Linked DNA regions of Homo sapiens: region 2 is linked to region 1. The links are contacts of gene promoters, found by promoter capture Hi-C in human tissues and cell types (Jung and others, 2019). All regions are on one chromosome and are shown on one strand. Each heading gives the region's core, a stretch centred on a gene start or on the middle of the fragment in contact. The rest is flanking DNA. Distances are from core to core; before and after follow the strand shown.

Region 1 (6,536 bases), core at 2,891-5,390:
TATTGGGTTTACATTTAAAAACACTGGAAAATGGCTGCGTGCGGTGGCTCACACCTGTAATCCCAGCACTTTGGGAGGTTAAGGTGGGCAGATCATGAGGTCAGGAGTTTGAGACCAGCCTGGCCAACATGGTAAAACACCATCTCTACTAAAAATACAAAAAATTAGCCAAGTGTGGTGGCAGGCGCCTGTAGTCCCAGCTACTCAGGAGGCTGAGGCAGAAGAATCACTTAAACCCAGTTGGCAGAGGTTGCAGTGAGCCGAGACTGTGCCACTGTACTCAAGCCTGGGTGACAGAGTGAGATTCCGTCTTAGAAAAAAAAAAAACACTGGAAAATGTCTGGTCATGGCTGCCATCACTGCCCCAATTGTGTCTCCAAAACTGCCAATTGTTTACATTTAAAATCCCATCATCTCTTATTATGGGTAATTAAGATGCGCAGGAGGGGATATTTTGGAGCAGTGTGGTCCAACTCAACCTTCCGAGATGATGAAAATATTTTACATCTGTGCCACCCAATAGGGGGAGCCACTAGACTGTAAGGCAATTGAGCATTTGAAATGTGGTTAGCACCGCTGAGAAACTGGGTTTATTTAATTTAAAATAACTAAAATTAAAATAGCCACATGCAGCTAGTGGCTACCACATTGGATAGTGTCGCTCTAGAGGGTGAGGGCACCACAGCGTTCTCTGTCCTTTAGTTCCCTGCCCCTGAGGGATTTGACTCTCTTGTCTTCCAGAGTCCAGAAGGGAAAAAAGGGACAGAGAAAGCAATGGACTGATGGACAGAGGCTCCTCAGCCATGCCTGGGTCTCCATCTTAGGGTTGGAGAGGTTGTTTGCTTTTCTGCTTTTCTGGCTCCATCTGACTTGTTACCAAGGCAACTGGATTAATATCATGAAGTTGATAGTAATGGCTGGTGAGGACAGTCTCTCTAAGTACAAACCCACAAGCTGCTCACAAACAGACTCACTGTGGCTCCAACAGGGAACATCTCCTATGCCACCTCTGGTCCCCACCCCAAAGCTGACCTGCCAGGAAGCAGGGGATGCGCGCTGAGCGGTTGGTGAGGAGACAGGGGTCATCGTGCAGGTTGTCAAAGGGCAGCAGGGCCCGGCCGTTGTCTTGGAAGCGCTGGTTGACGGCCAGCAGCCCCAGCTGGTTGGACATGTTGCGCAGGTTCCTGGCCAGGGGCTCCTCGCTGCCGTACACCATGCTGGCGTCCACGAAGGAAGTGAGCGCGTTGATCTGGTTGCGGATGGTGATGTTGCTCCCGGGGCAAGCCGGGCAGGAGCGGAAGAACGGGATGCAGTCGGCTTGGTTCTTGATGCGGGGGTCATTGGGCGGGATCTGAGGCACAGAGAGAGGCTAGACTGGCTCACCGAGGGCAAGGAAGGTGCCCAGGCAGAACTGGATCTCCCCCTGCCCTCAGGACCTCTGGTACCCTCAACCTGCAGAGAGGCCTCCGGAGGCCCGAAAGGGATCGCTGCCTAGGGCGCCATCAGCAACAGCCTCTGAGGTGCAGGGTTAATGAGCAGAACACTGAACTGGGAACCTGGGCAACCCCTGGGTCTGGGCACCGCCAGGCCTCGGATCCCTCCTCACTAAAGCGTCGCCCGTCTCTCTCCCCTTCTCTCTGCTGTGCCTGCTCTCCCTCTGGCCCTGACATTCTCCTGTCTGTCTCTCCCTCTCTCAGGCGCTCTCTCCTTTCTCTCCTCCTCCTTCCCTACTCAGCAGTGCCTCGACCACCCTGCCCACTCCCAGCCCTGTCCCACGGCACCCACCAGACCCCCAGGCTCTCTCTTTCTGTGTGATGGGGGTTGGGGCTGCCCTCTCAGTGGGGCGGAAACAGGACTGAGCATGGAGGCTTGGGGGGCACTGAGAAGGTCTCCTCCCAGAACCCTCTCCCAACCTAACAAAGAGCCAGTGATTCCACCAACAGGACTCCTGTCAGCCAAGGAGGAACAACCCTCTCTCCCTTGGCCTGCCAGAGGCAGTGAGCAAATGGACGGCCCTGGCTGCCAGCTGGCTGAGCCCAGGCGCAGGAAGGAGACAGGTCATAGCTGAGCAGCCAGTGCTGTGGACACAAGGGAGGCAGGGCCAGCCTTCCTCAGCGTCTGGGAAAGGAAACCTGGGCACAGAAGGGAGATGGCCCCTTCCAGAAACAATCTCCCCTCTCCCAACCCAGGCAGTGGGCGGGAAGCAGGGCCACCTTGAGCGGGAAGCAGGGCGGCTGCTGAACGCAGCTGGTCTCGCAGTTGACGCCAGTGACGAAGGAGGCCCGGGCGGCCGGCTCAGGGGTGAAGTCGAGGTCGTGGTCCAACAGCTGGCCCCATTGCATGAACATGAGTGAGCGCTCCTGGTCCGGAGTCAGCTGATCAGTGGGGAAGCGCACGATCTCGTTGGAGACCGCGCGAGCCTGCGGGACACGGAGATCAGCTGGCGCCTGGGTCCGCGCACCGCGTGGCCGGGCCTCGCCCCCTCTGCCCGCCGGCGCTCACCAGAGCCACCGGGAAGCCGTTGCGCTTGACCCCGGGCGTCCAGCCGTAGGGAAGAGAGAAGCCGTCCTCATACTCCGCCGGCAGCCAGCGCACAAAGGCACGGTTGGAGGCCCCCAGCGTGGGGCTGCGTCTGCAGGGGAGGACAGGGCGCTGACACCGGGAGGCTTGTGGCGTCCGGGACGCCTCTCTGAGCCCGGTTCCTGCAGCCACCCCCAGCCAGCCGCACCTGTTGTTGCACATCCCGGTGATGGTGCGGTATTTGTCCTGCTCCGGGCAAGTCACCCCCACGTCCTGGTAGGCGCAGCCGCTTGACTTGGACAACACATTCAGCTGGGCGGGCGTCAGCACATCTGCCGGGGGAAAGAACAATGGGGGAGCTGAGCCGCCTCACTTCCTATCCCAGGCAACCTGAGGCTGAGGAGCCCTGGAGACTCCTGAGACTCCCTGGAGGAAGAAGTTGAGGGGATCACTGAGAGACGGCTGGGGTCCCTAGGAGGAGTCACTAGTGGAGCAGGGACCTGGGGTGTGATGGGCAACAGTACCAGTGACATTGAATGGCCTTCGCCACAGGGACCGCAGCTTCCTCTCCAGCAGGTCTAGAGCCACGTGCAGGTAGTCAGCGGCCCTCACCGCCGTCCTGGTGGCTGCCACCGGCTGCTTGAAGTAGGATAGGAGTTCCATGGGGCTGGCTGAGCCGCTGCGAAGCCGCTGCTTGATGCTGCTTGGAGAAAGGAGGAGTGAGGGCCAGAGAAGGGATACAGACCCACCCAGCAGAGCCCCAGCCCAGGGGCAGACATGCAGGACCATGCAGGCAGGCCCACGGGTGGGAGGAAGGCTTCCTTTTATAAAAAGGATATGGACCTGGGTGTCCAGACAGAGGCAAGGCTTTGGGAAGGATGGCTTTTAAGCTGTTCTCCCATCCAGAAACACAGGGACAGACAGACAGAAAGGGAGTCCACATGGGTCCCCATAGTCCCCCTCTCCCACCTTCAAGCTCCCTGCTGCCTGCTGCTTCTCTGAAAGGCCTGGGACATCCTTGCCCAGAGCTGGGCAGTGCCTCGTGCCCCACCTTTCCCGCCGCTCCTTGTAGGCCTTGTCCACCAGCTGCTTGGCCTCCTCCATGGAGCTCAGCACCAACGAGGTGTCCACCTCCCCCAGGACAGCTGCCCAGAGCAGGGATCACAAAGTCAGGAATGGGCCCCAACCCCCTATCAGGCCCCAGAGCTAGGAAGGCCTGCTCTGAGAAAAGGGGTCTCTGGAACACAACCACCCCAACACACCATCTTCTCCCACCTTGGGAACTGTTACCTGGAGCAGCACCTTCAGAGGGCTGGGGCGTGGCCAGAATGGCCAGGAGCCCTGCTAGGGCCAGAAGCAGCTTCATCTCTGCAGTGAGACCCCCAGCCCAGCAAGGTCCTAAGTCCACCATGCATCTGAGAGAAGAGAAGAAGGGAACCCCCATCTCTCTTCTCCTGGGCTGCTCAATCCCCCTTTGTACCTCAGCCCCACCTCAGAGGGCCCTGTCTATGGATAAAGCCAGACCTCCTTGAGGGAGGGGCTCACTGCTCTCTTATCCCCTTGCCAGCTGCTGTCATCCAGCTTCCAAGGACCCCACCTCCACAGCTCACCTGATATTGTCAGCTCCTCTTAGCTCAATCTGCGCTTTTATGTCCTCTAAGCTGGGGGTGGGGTGAGGTAGAGGAAGGTCTGATCCTGGAGACTGAACTCTTTCTCCTCCCCCACTGGGGTTGGAAGGTACACACAGAGGGGCCCCTGAAATGGGGGGAAGGGGCAGGAAAGGAGGGGCCAGCATTGTCCCCAGCCTTTTTTTTTTTTTTTTTTGAGACGTTATCTTGCTCTGTTGCCCAGGCTGATGTGCAATGGTTCAAGCGATTCTTCTGCCTCAGCCTCCCGAGTAGCTGGGATTACAGGTGCCCGCCACCACGCCCTAGCCTCTAGCCACATCATCAATTATTTCCTTAGGCAAGAAGTAATTTTTGTATTTTTCCTTAGGCAAGAAGCTAATTTTTGTATTTTTAGTAGATACAGGGTTTCACCATGTTGGCCAGGCTGGTCTTGAACTCCTGACCTCAAGTGATCCACCCGCCTCAGCCTCCCAAAGTGCTGGGATTACAGGCATGAGCCACTGGCCCCAGCCTGTCCCCAGCCTTTGAATTTAGCACTACCAGCCCAAGATTTCTCAGCTCACCATTGTGTGCCTATACCAGTGCTTGTCCCCAGGGGATACACACAACTAACCCCTCTGAAATTCTGGTTACACTGGTTATCCAGGGTTCCTTTGAAAGGAACAAAAGTCAGGAACTGGTAGCCCAAGGAATTGCAGGGAATAGAGTGCCCCCAGGGAAGACAGGAGGATGAAAGGGAGACCTGGAGTAAAGATGACCCAATTGGCCTCAGGTGGCCATCCCCCACTCCAACAGTAACCTGCATCCAACAGCCACCCAATGGGCAGCCTCTGGTTCTTGGTGGGGCTAAGGGGACAGGAAATCTGGCTGGAGACCGTTGGGCTTCACAGGAAGGAGGACCCTGGGGACTGTGGGCGCAGGACCAAGATAACTTCCTCTATCCCTCCTCACTCCCCTTTCTTCTTGGCTTCTGGTAGAGGGCTGTCTCCAAACTCCTCCTCCCCACCACCATCTGCTCCTGGATTTCAGGAACCAGGAGAGAGCAGAACTGGTTGTGGTTAGTGATCAGTTAGGTGATGCAGCCCAGGGCCTCTCTGGGACAGGATCAGTGCAGTTGGGAGGACTTGGGTTAATGATTCAGAATAATTCTGAAACAGAAGAGGATATTTCTTGCTTGAGAAAGCCCAGCAAAAGGGCCACCAATCTCAGCAGGAAAAGTACTACGACTTTTGACTGAATCAGTCTACCTCTCTGGGCCCTGGTCAGGCTGAGCTCGTGCCAACCATGCCTCCCATGTCCCATTTAGGTTCCCCCTCCTACCTTCAGCCACCTTCCCGCCACCCACTCTTTTTTTTTTTTTTTTTTTTTGAGACAGGGTCTCTCACTGTTGGCGGAGCTGGAGTACAGTGGTGCAATCTCGGCTCACTGCAACCTCTGCCTCCTGGGTTCAAGCAATTCTCCTGCCTCAGCCTCCCAAGTAGCTGGGATTACAGGCGCCCGCCACCATGCCCGGCTAATATTTTGTATTTTTAGTAGAGATGGGGTTTCAACATGTTGGCCAGGCTGGTCTCAAACTCCTGACCTCCTCCTGATCCACCCACTGTTGGGATTACAGGCGTGAGCCACCGCGCCCGGCCCACTCTTGTCTTCTATGCCCAGACCACCTCTTGGCCAAGGGACAAGGGACAGCAACACCCAGAATATCTTCCCAGTGTGTCCAGGGATTCTGTCCCCTGCTGAGAAGGGGAACCAAGCTTTTGCCCTGCCAGTGACTTGCTGTGTGTGAAGTTGGTCGAGTGGCTCTTTGTGAATCAAGCTCTAGAATTTTAGAGGCTTTTGGAAATGATTTTTCAATCCTTTAAGTAATATAATTTTCACTGATGAAAAGTTTGAGAACACGAGTATGCAAAAATAAAAATAAATCAAAATTACTCATCATCAAGTGAGATTGTGGGTACTTTTTTCTTTCAAGGTTTATCATTGTCTTCACATAAATAAACAATAGGAAGGAAAATAATTGCCCATAATCCCACCACTCACCAATACCTCATTTAAGAATTTGATATCCTATATGTAAACATAATATATATTTTTAAATATTGATAAGAAGAACTTTAAATATTGTTTTACCATCTACTTTCGGTACTTAACAATTTTAGTCTGAGCATCTCCCTGTGTCAATAAATACAGGTTTACTTCATTTTTATGTCTGTATAATATTTCATATAACTATTTTATATGATTTATTAACTAATTCTATCTCATTAGATACTTAGAGTTGTTTCTGATTTTCATTATTATAAGTAGTACTAGGATAAGCATCCATGGAGTTAAATCTCTCGCCACATCGTCAATTATTTCCTTAGGCAAGAAGTAAAATTCCTGCGT
Region 2 (6,536 bases), core at 1,965-4,464, 1.3 Mb before region 1:
TGTTTCCTGCATGGTTTTATACCAAATGAGCCACACTTTACCATTGCATTAATGCATTATTGATGTCAAACCCAATCCTTAATAAAACCTTATAGACAAATCTATCCAATTTTAATGTCTGACCAAAAGGTAAGATTCTCATAGATCTTTTTTATAGCCTTTACAATTTTTGTTAAAGAGCAGATCAATTCTCCGAGAGAAAACCTCATTGTGCTTTTATTTGAATATTCAATTTATGGAAAAACTGAATAATATTCCTTTAACTTTAGCCAATATTTTCACACATAGAATTTCTTTTACAAGAATAATTTTTCACAAACCTTCCATAACTTGTCCAAACCTTTAGATTTATCCTAACTGAATACAATCCTTTAACACTTTAATCTAGGCAGAAAAATCCACATTCCCATGCCTTCTTAAAATCTTTTGCCAAAAGTACATTTTACTTTACTTATACACCTTGCAAGTAAAATTGTTTCTTCAGTAGCCTCAATTACATGTTACAGTGTTAACTCTTAACTTTTACTTTTGGTGAAAAACCTGGTTAATGAGTGATTTATTTATTTTTATTTATTTTTTTAAGATGGAGTCTTGCTCTGTTGCCCAGGCTGGAGTGCAGTGGCATGATCTTGGCTCACTGCAACCTCCACCTCCCAGGTTAAAGTGAATCTCCTGCCTCAGCCTCTCTAGTAGCTGAGATTACAGGCACCCACCACCATGCCCAGCTAATTTTTGTATTTTTTTTTTTTTTTAGTAGAGACAGGGTTTCACTATGTTGGCCAGGCTGGTCTCAAACTCCTGACCTCAAGTGATCTGCCCACCTCAGCCTCCCAAAGTGCTGGGATTATAGGTGTGAGCCACTGTGACTGGCCAATAAGTGATTTTAATTACGTACCAGGTGTGTGTGGAGCCTAGGACCCAGAGAGAAGTACAGATAAGGTCTGACTTTTCTCAGCATAGCCAGGGGGTATGGATAGCTCCACATGTCCCCAGGTTTCATCTAGAATTTAATGCTCCAAAGTAGGTAAATTGAACAATTTTCAAAAGTCAAAGAAGCAGTTTATGACCTTAAAGCATTAAGCAAACCTAATACCTGACCTGCATAATTTAGACCAAATGCCTAAATTTTGAAAACATTTTTGTTTTACCAATAATCTTTAAAACTGTGTTTCCCAAAGCTTACTAAAGTCATGTGAACCAAAAGGCATTAAAGTTTTTATTTTTCTGACAAAATATTTGATTTAAGCACTTATTATTTTTAAGCCAATTAATCAAAGCTCTTTCATATAGAAACATTATACACATAACACATATAAATACAAAGACAGAAGAAGATCCAGTAGTTGAAAGATTTTTCATTTGCCAGTTTCTTAATTGGATTACTGGCTTCAGGGTGGAGCCCTTGGAGGAACACAGCCAGGAAAGCATGCCATTTCTACAGCCTAATAAGTAGGCACAGCTGGAAACAAAACAGATTCCCAAAATTTAAGGGTCCCAGATCCAGATCCTGGATCCCCAAAAGAGAGATTCAGCCCATCTCCCATGGGAGTCTTATCTCTCAGTGGGGGTGGGGTCATTTCCATACCTTCTAGGTAGTCAAGAGCATGCTTCTCTAATGCAAACATGCAAAGAGCCACGTATTCCCCCATAACTGCCATTAGCTATCCCCAAAAGTATATTCCTACCCAGTTGTTATACTAGGTAAAGCTTATACCAAAGCTCTCTAATAATGTAAAGTAATTTCTGATACCCCAAAAAGTTAAAAATATCAGATAATGCAATGCAAAACAGGACAAAGCCTTAGATTTTGAGAGGAATCTACCCACTTTTATTTCCTGGGTTTCCATGAAGACAATAGACATTTTTCCCCAAATGGGATCTGTGGTGCCTCCTATTACTGCAACCTGTTTTATCAGAAAGGTCTTTATGACCTGTGTCTCGTGCTGACCTCCTGTCTCATCCTCTGACTAAGAATGCCTTAACCTCCTGGGAATGCAGCCCAGAAGGTCTCAGCCTTATTTCATCCAGTCCCTATTCAAGATGGAGTCGTTCTGGTTCAAACACCTCTCACAGCACCTCAGTCTCTCTCTTGCTCCTGCTCTGGCCATGTGAGGTGCCTGCTCCCCCTTCACCTTCACCATGACTGTAAGTTTCCTGAGGCCTCCCAAGAAGCCGAGCAGATGCCAGCACCATGCTACCTGTATAACATGCAGAACCATGAGCCAATTAAACCTCTTTTCTTTACACATTACCCAGTCTCAGGTATTTCTTTTTTTTTTTTTTTTTGAGACGGAGTCTCACTCTGTTGCCCAGGGTGGAGTGCAGTGGTGCGATCTCGGCTCATTGCAAGCTCTGCCTCCAGGGTTTATGCCATTCTCCTGCCTCAGCCTCCCGAAGTGCTGGGACTACAGGCGCCCACCACCACGCCTGGCTAATTTTTTGTATTTTTAGTAGAGATGGGGTTTCACCGTGTTAGCCAGGATGGTCTCGATCTCCTGACCTCGTGATCCGCCCACCTCGGCCTCCCAATCAGGTATTTCTTTATAGCAATGTGAGAATGGACTAACAAACATTACCTGAGTTCTGTGAGCTGTTTTAGCAAATGATTAAACTCAAGAAAGGGATCATGGGACCCTCTGACTCATAGCCTGTCAGAAGCACCAGGTGACAAGCTGGACTTTTGATTGGCAACCGACTGTGGGGTAGGTACTAACTTCAGATAGATCATGTCAGAACTGAATTGAATTGTAGGATACCCAGCTGGTATCTCCAGAGAATTGGAGAATTGCTTGGTATAGGAACCCCTGCTACACACACACATCTGGTGTCACAAGTGAAGTACTGAGTTTTTCCTTTCGTTGTGAAGAAGAAAACCCTTTTTATTCTAAATGCCTTGTGTTTGGTGTCATTGAAGCTACATAGTGTCTTAGTTCTTTCCGGCTGCTATAACAAAATTACCTTAGACTAGGGCATTTATAAATGACAGAAATTTATTCCTCATAGTTCTGGAGTCTGGAAAGTGCAAAATCAAGATGCCAGCAGGTTTGGTGTCTGGTGAGGGCCCTTTCATGAGGGTTCCGCTCCCATTAACCACTCCTAAAGGCCCTATTTCTTTTTTTTTTTAATTATTTTTTTGTAGAGGGTCTCACTATTTTGACTAGGCTGGTCTCAAGTTTCTGGCTTCAAGCAATTCTCCCACCTCGGCCGCCCAAAGTGCTGAGATTACAGGCAAGAGGCACTTGTGCCAGTCCCATTTCTTTTTCTTTTTCTTTTTTGAGATGGAGTTTCACTCTTGTTGCCCAGGCTGGAGTGCAATGGCACGATCTCAGCTCACCACAACCTCTGCTTTTGGGGTTCAAGTGATTCTTCTGCCTCAGCCTCCAGAATAGCTGGGATTACAAGCATGCTCCACCATGCCTGGCTAATTTTTTGTTGAGATGGGCTTTCTCCATGTTGGTCAGGCTGGTCTCAAACTCCCGACCTCAGGTGATCCACCTGCCTCAGCCTCCCAAAGTGCTGGGATTACAGGTGTGAGCCACTGCCCCTGGCCCCTAGCCCCACTTCTTTAGTACTATCCCATAGGCAATTAGGTTCCAATATATGGGGAGATAGGACATTTCTGCTGGGCTTGAACACCTACATTTTTAAAATAAAATTTAAAAACAACCATAATACCATCATCACTCCCCTACTACCCCCCAAGTGAAAAATATCTTAGTATCATCAAATATCCAAAGCCCACGTAGACTACAAATTTATTTCCACCAATTCAAATTCCTGGGCTGGAGCATCTGATTAGTGGGTCTACAGGACTACTCTGTATCTACCAAGGAGGAGAGAGAGGAAAGGTATAACCTCATTGAGGCCCCAATAGCTTCTCATCAGAGGATTCTGCCTGATGCTGGCAAGACAAAAAAAAAAAAAGAGTTTTGCCAGGCGCGGTGGCTCACATCTGTAATCTCAACACTTTGGAAGGCTGAGGCAGGTGGATTGCTTAAGTCTAGGAGTTCAAGACCAGCCTGGGCAACATAGGGAGACCCCATTTCTACAAAAAATTTTTAAAATTAGCCAGGCATGGTGGTGAGCACCTATAGTCCCAGCTACTCAAGGAGGCTGACGTGGGAGAATCGCTTGAGCCTGGGAGGTCAAGGTAGTGAGCCACGATCATGCCACTATACTCCAGCCTGGACAACTAAGTGAGGCTCTTCCCCCGCTCCAAAAAAAAAGAAAAAAAAAAAAAGAAATGACTTCCCATTACAAGTGGTGTCAGCAATAATGCAGAAGAGAGGGAATGGCCAGAAAAGCTTTTGGACAGGAGGTCAGATTAAACTGAGCTCTATGAGATGGGTAGAGTATAGGTATCTAGAGATGGGTAGAGTGTAGGTACCTAAAGATGGGTAAAGTGTAGGTAACTAGAGAGACTAGAGGATAGGATATTTTTTATTTTATTTTTCCTTCTTTGTGATGGAGTTTCACTCTTGTTGCCGAGGCTGGAGTGCCATGGCGCCATCTCGGTCCACTGCAACCTCTGCCTCCCGGGTTCAAGCAATTCTTCTGCCCCAGCCTCCAGAGTAGCTGGGATTACAAGCATGTGCCACCACAACCAGCTAATGTTATATTTTTAGTAGAGACAGTTTTCACCATGTTGGCCAGGCCGGTCTCAAACTCCTAACCTCAGGTGATCCACCCGTCTTGGCCTCCCAAAGTGCTGGGATTACAGGCATGAGCCACCACGCCCAGCAATATTTTTTATTTCTAATAAAATAATAAGTGTAATAGTAACAAAATTTAGAAAATAAAGAAATGTAGGAAAATAGTTATTAAAAGTCTCATTACCCAAAAAAGTCATTTGGCTTAATTCATATCCCTATATTTTTTATTTAACGGGCATTATAAGAATTTATCTATGTTACTGTGGGTTCTTTGTCAGTATAATTTTTTTTTAAAGAGAGAAGGTCTTGCTCTGTTGTCCAAGCTGGAGAACAGAGTGCAGTGGTATGGTCATAGCTCACAGCAGCCTTGAACCTCTGTGCTCAAGTGATCCTTCTGCCTCAGCCTCCTGCATAGCTGGGACTACAGGTGCCACCACCACACCCCGCTAATTTTTCAATTTTTTGTAGAGACAAAGTCTCATTTTGTTTCCCAGACTGGTGTTGAACTCCTGGCCTCAAGTGACCCTCCTGCCTTGGCCTCCTGAAGGGCTGGGATTACAGGCCTGAGCCACTGTGTCTGGCCTTGTAAATATCATTTTTTAACAGATACATAATATTCCATTAAGAAAATGTTCTACACTTCATCTGACCAGTCCTCCATATTTTGACATTTATTCAAATTTCAGTTTTTCTTTTCTTTTTTTTTTTTTTTTTCAGACAGGGTCTCATTCTGTCACCCAGCTGGAGTGCAGTGGTGCCATCTTGGCTCACTGCAACCTCGACATCCCTGGCTCATGTGATCTTCTCACCTCAGCTTCCCAAGTAGCTGGGATTACAAGTGTGCACCACCATGCCTGGCTTATTTTTTAAATTTTTTTTGTAGAGACAGGGTTTCACCATGTTGCCCAGACTGATCTCAAACTCCTGGGCTCTAGCAATCGCCCACCTGGGCCTCTCAAAGTGTCATTTCAGTTTTTCTGATTATAAATAACTGTGATGAACATTATTTTGCTTAAAGCTTTTTCTGGTTTTAGAGTTATTTAATTACTATGGACTCCCAAAAGCAAAATTCTGGTAAAATGTTGTATAAATATTATAAAGAGTGGGGGTATTTCTGATACTGATTTTATACCACCTTATATTGTTATTTAGTAATCTCAAGAGGTGTTTCAAATTCTCAAGGCAAAATTGATAGAAATTGGTAAATTTTAAGACCATAGGCCCTAGGGTGTATAGCATAGAGGCAGAATTTTTAACTGCGCACACAGCGATCCAGAAAAAAAAAAAAAAATACTACATTTCCCAGCAGTTAAGTGTGGCCACGTGACTACGTTCTGGCCACCGGGATATAAACAGAAGTGTTCTGGCAGCAGCTGGAAACCGTCCCCTTTGGTGTACCTTTTGTTCCCTTTCACCCTCTTTTATTTTGCTGGCTGGAATGTGAATGCAACCATTTGGGATCATGGTAGGAAGATATGCTAGAATGAGCCGAGGTCCCCGAGGATTTTGAGGACTGGAGCCACCATTCCACCTTTGTACTCCTTTTCTCTCTTTACATGGAAATAAATTTTTGTCTTAAGCTACTGTTGGTTTGGGTTTTCTACCACTTACAGCCATGCCTAATTCTGACTAAATACAATGTGGTTTTAAAACTGGGACAGGCATTGTTATACTCTTCTTCATAAGCCCAGAGTAGCTGAGAAATGTTGCCATGGGAAAAAAACATTACAGGCCGGGCACGGTGGCTCATGCCTGTAATCCCAACACTTTGGGAGGCCGAGCTGGCAGATCACCTGAGGTCAGGAGTTCGAGACCAGCCTGGCCAACATGGTCAAACCCCGTCTCTATTAAGAATACAAAAATTAGCTGGGTGTGCTGGCAGGT

What was found. Contacts are between HindIII fragments. The study calls those that stand out against the background at their distance.
Region 2: a fragment that was not itself captured here is called in contact with the fragment with the promoter of MPO in region 1 in 1 of the 25 tissues and cell types used here (lymphoblastoid cells).

Annotation. Positions count from the first base shown.
Region 1 is chr17:58,276,795-58,283,330 of GRCh38, forward strand. It overlaps MPO (myeloperoxidase), which reads right to left and starts at 4,141. Exons shown (of 12, transcript NM_000250.2): 1 at 3,811-4,141; 2 at 3,572-3,665; 3 at 3,045-3,220; 4 at 2,729-2,852; 5 at 2,503-2,632; 6 at 2,214-2,420; 7 at 1,033-1,351. The coding sequence starts at 3,964. RefSeq lists enhancers at 1-668, 1,800-2,489, 5,074-5,091 and promoters at 4,131-4,725, 4,131-4,271, 4,664-5,065, 4,950-5,175, 5,221-5,421. The HindIII fragment of the contact is 18,673 bases long and covers 1-6,536 here.
Region 2 is chr17:57,026,535-57,033,070 of GRCh38, forward strand. No RefSeq gene overlaps it. Among named protein-coding and RNA genes, the nearest start is that of SCPEP1, 52 kb to the left of the region's middle. RefSeq lists a silencer at 1,361-1,561. The HindIII fragment of the contact is 3,545 bases long and covers 1,443-4,987 here.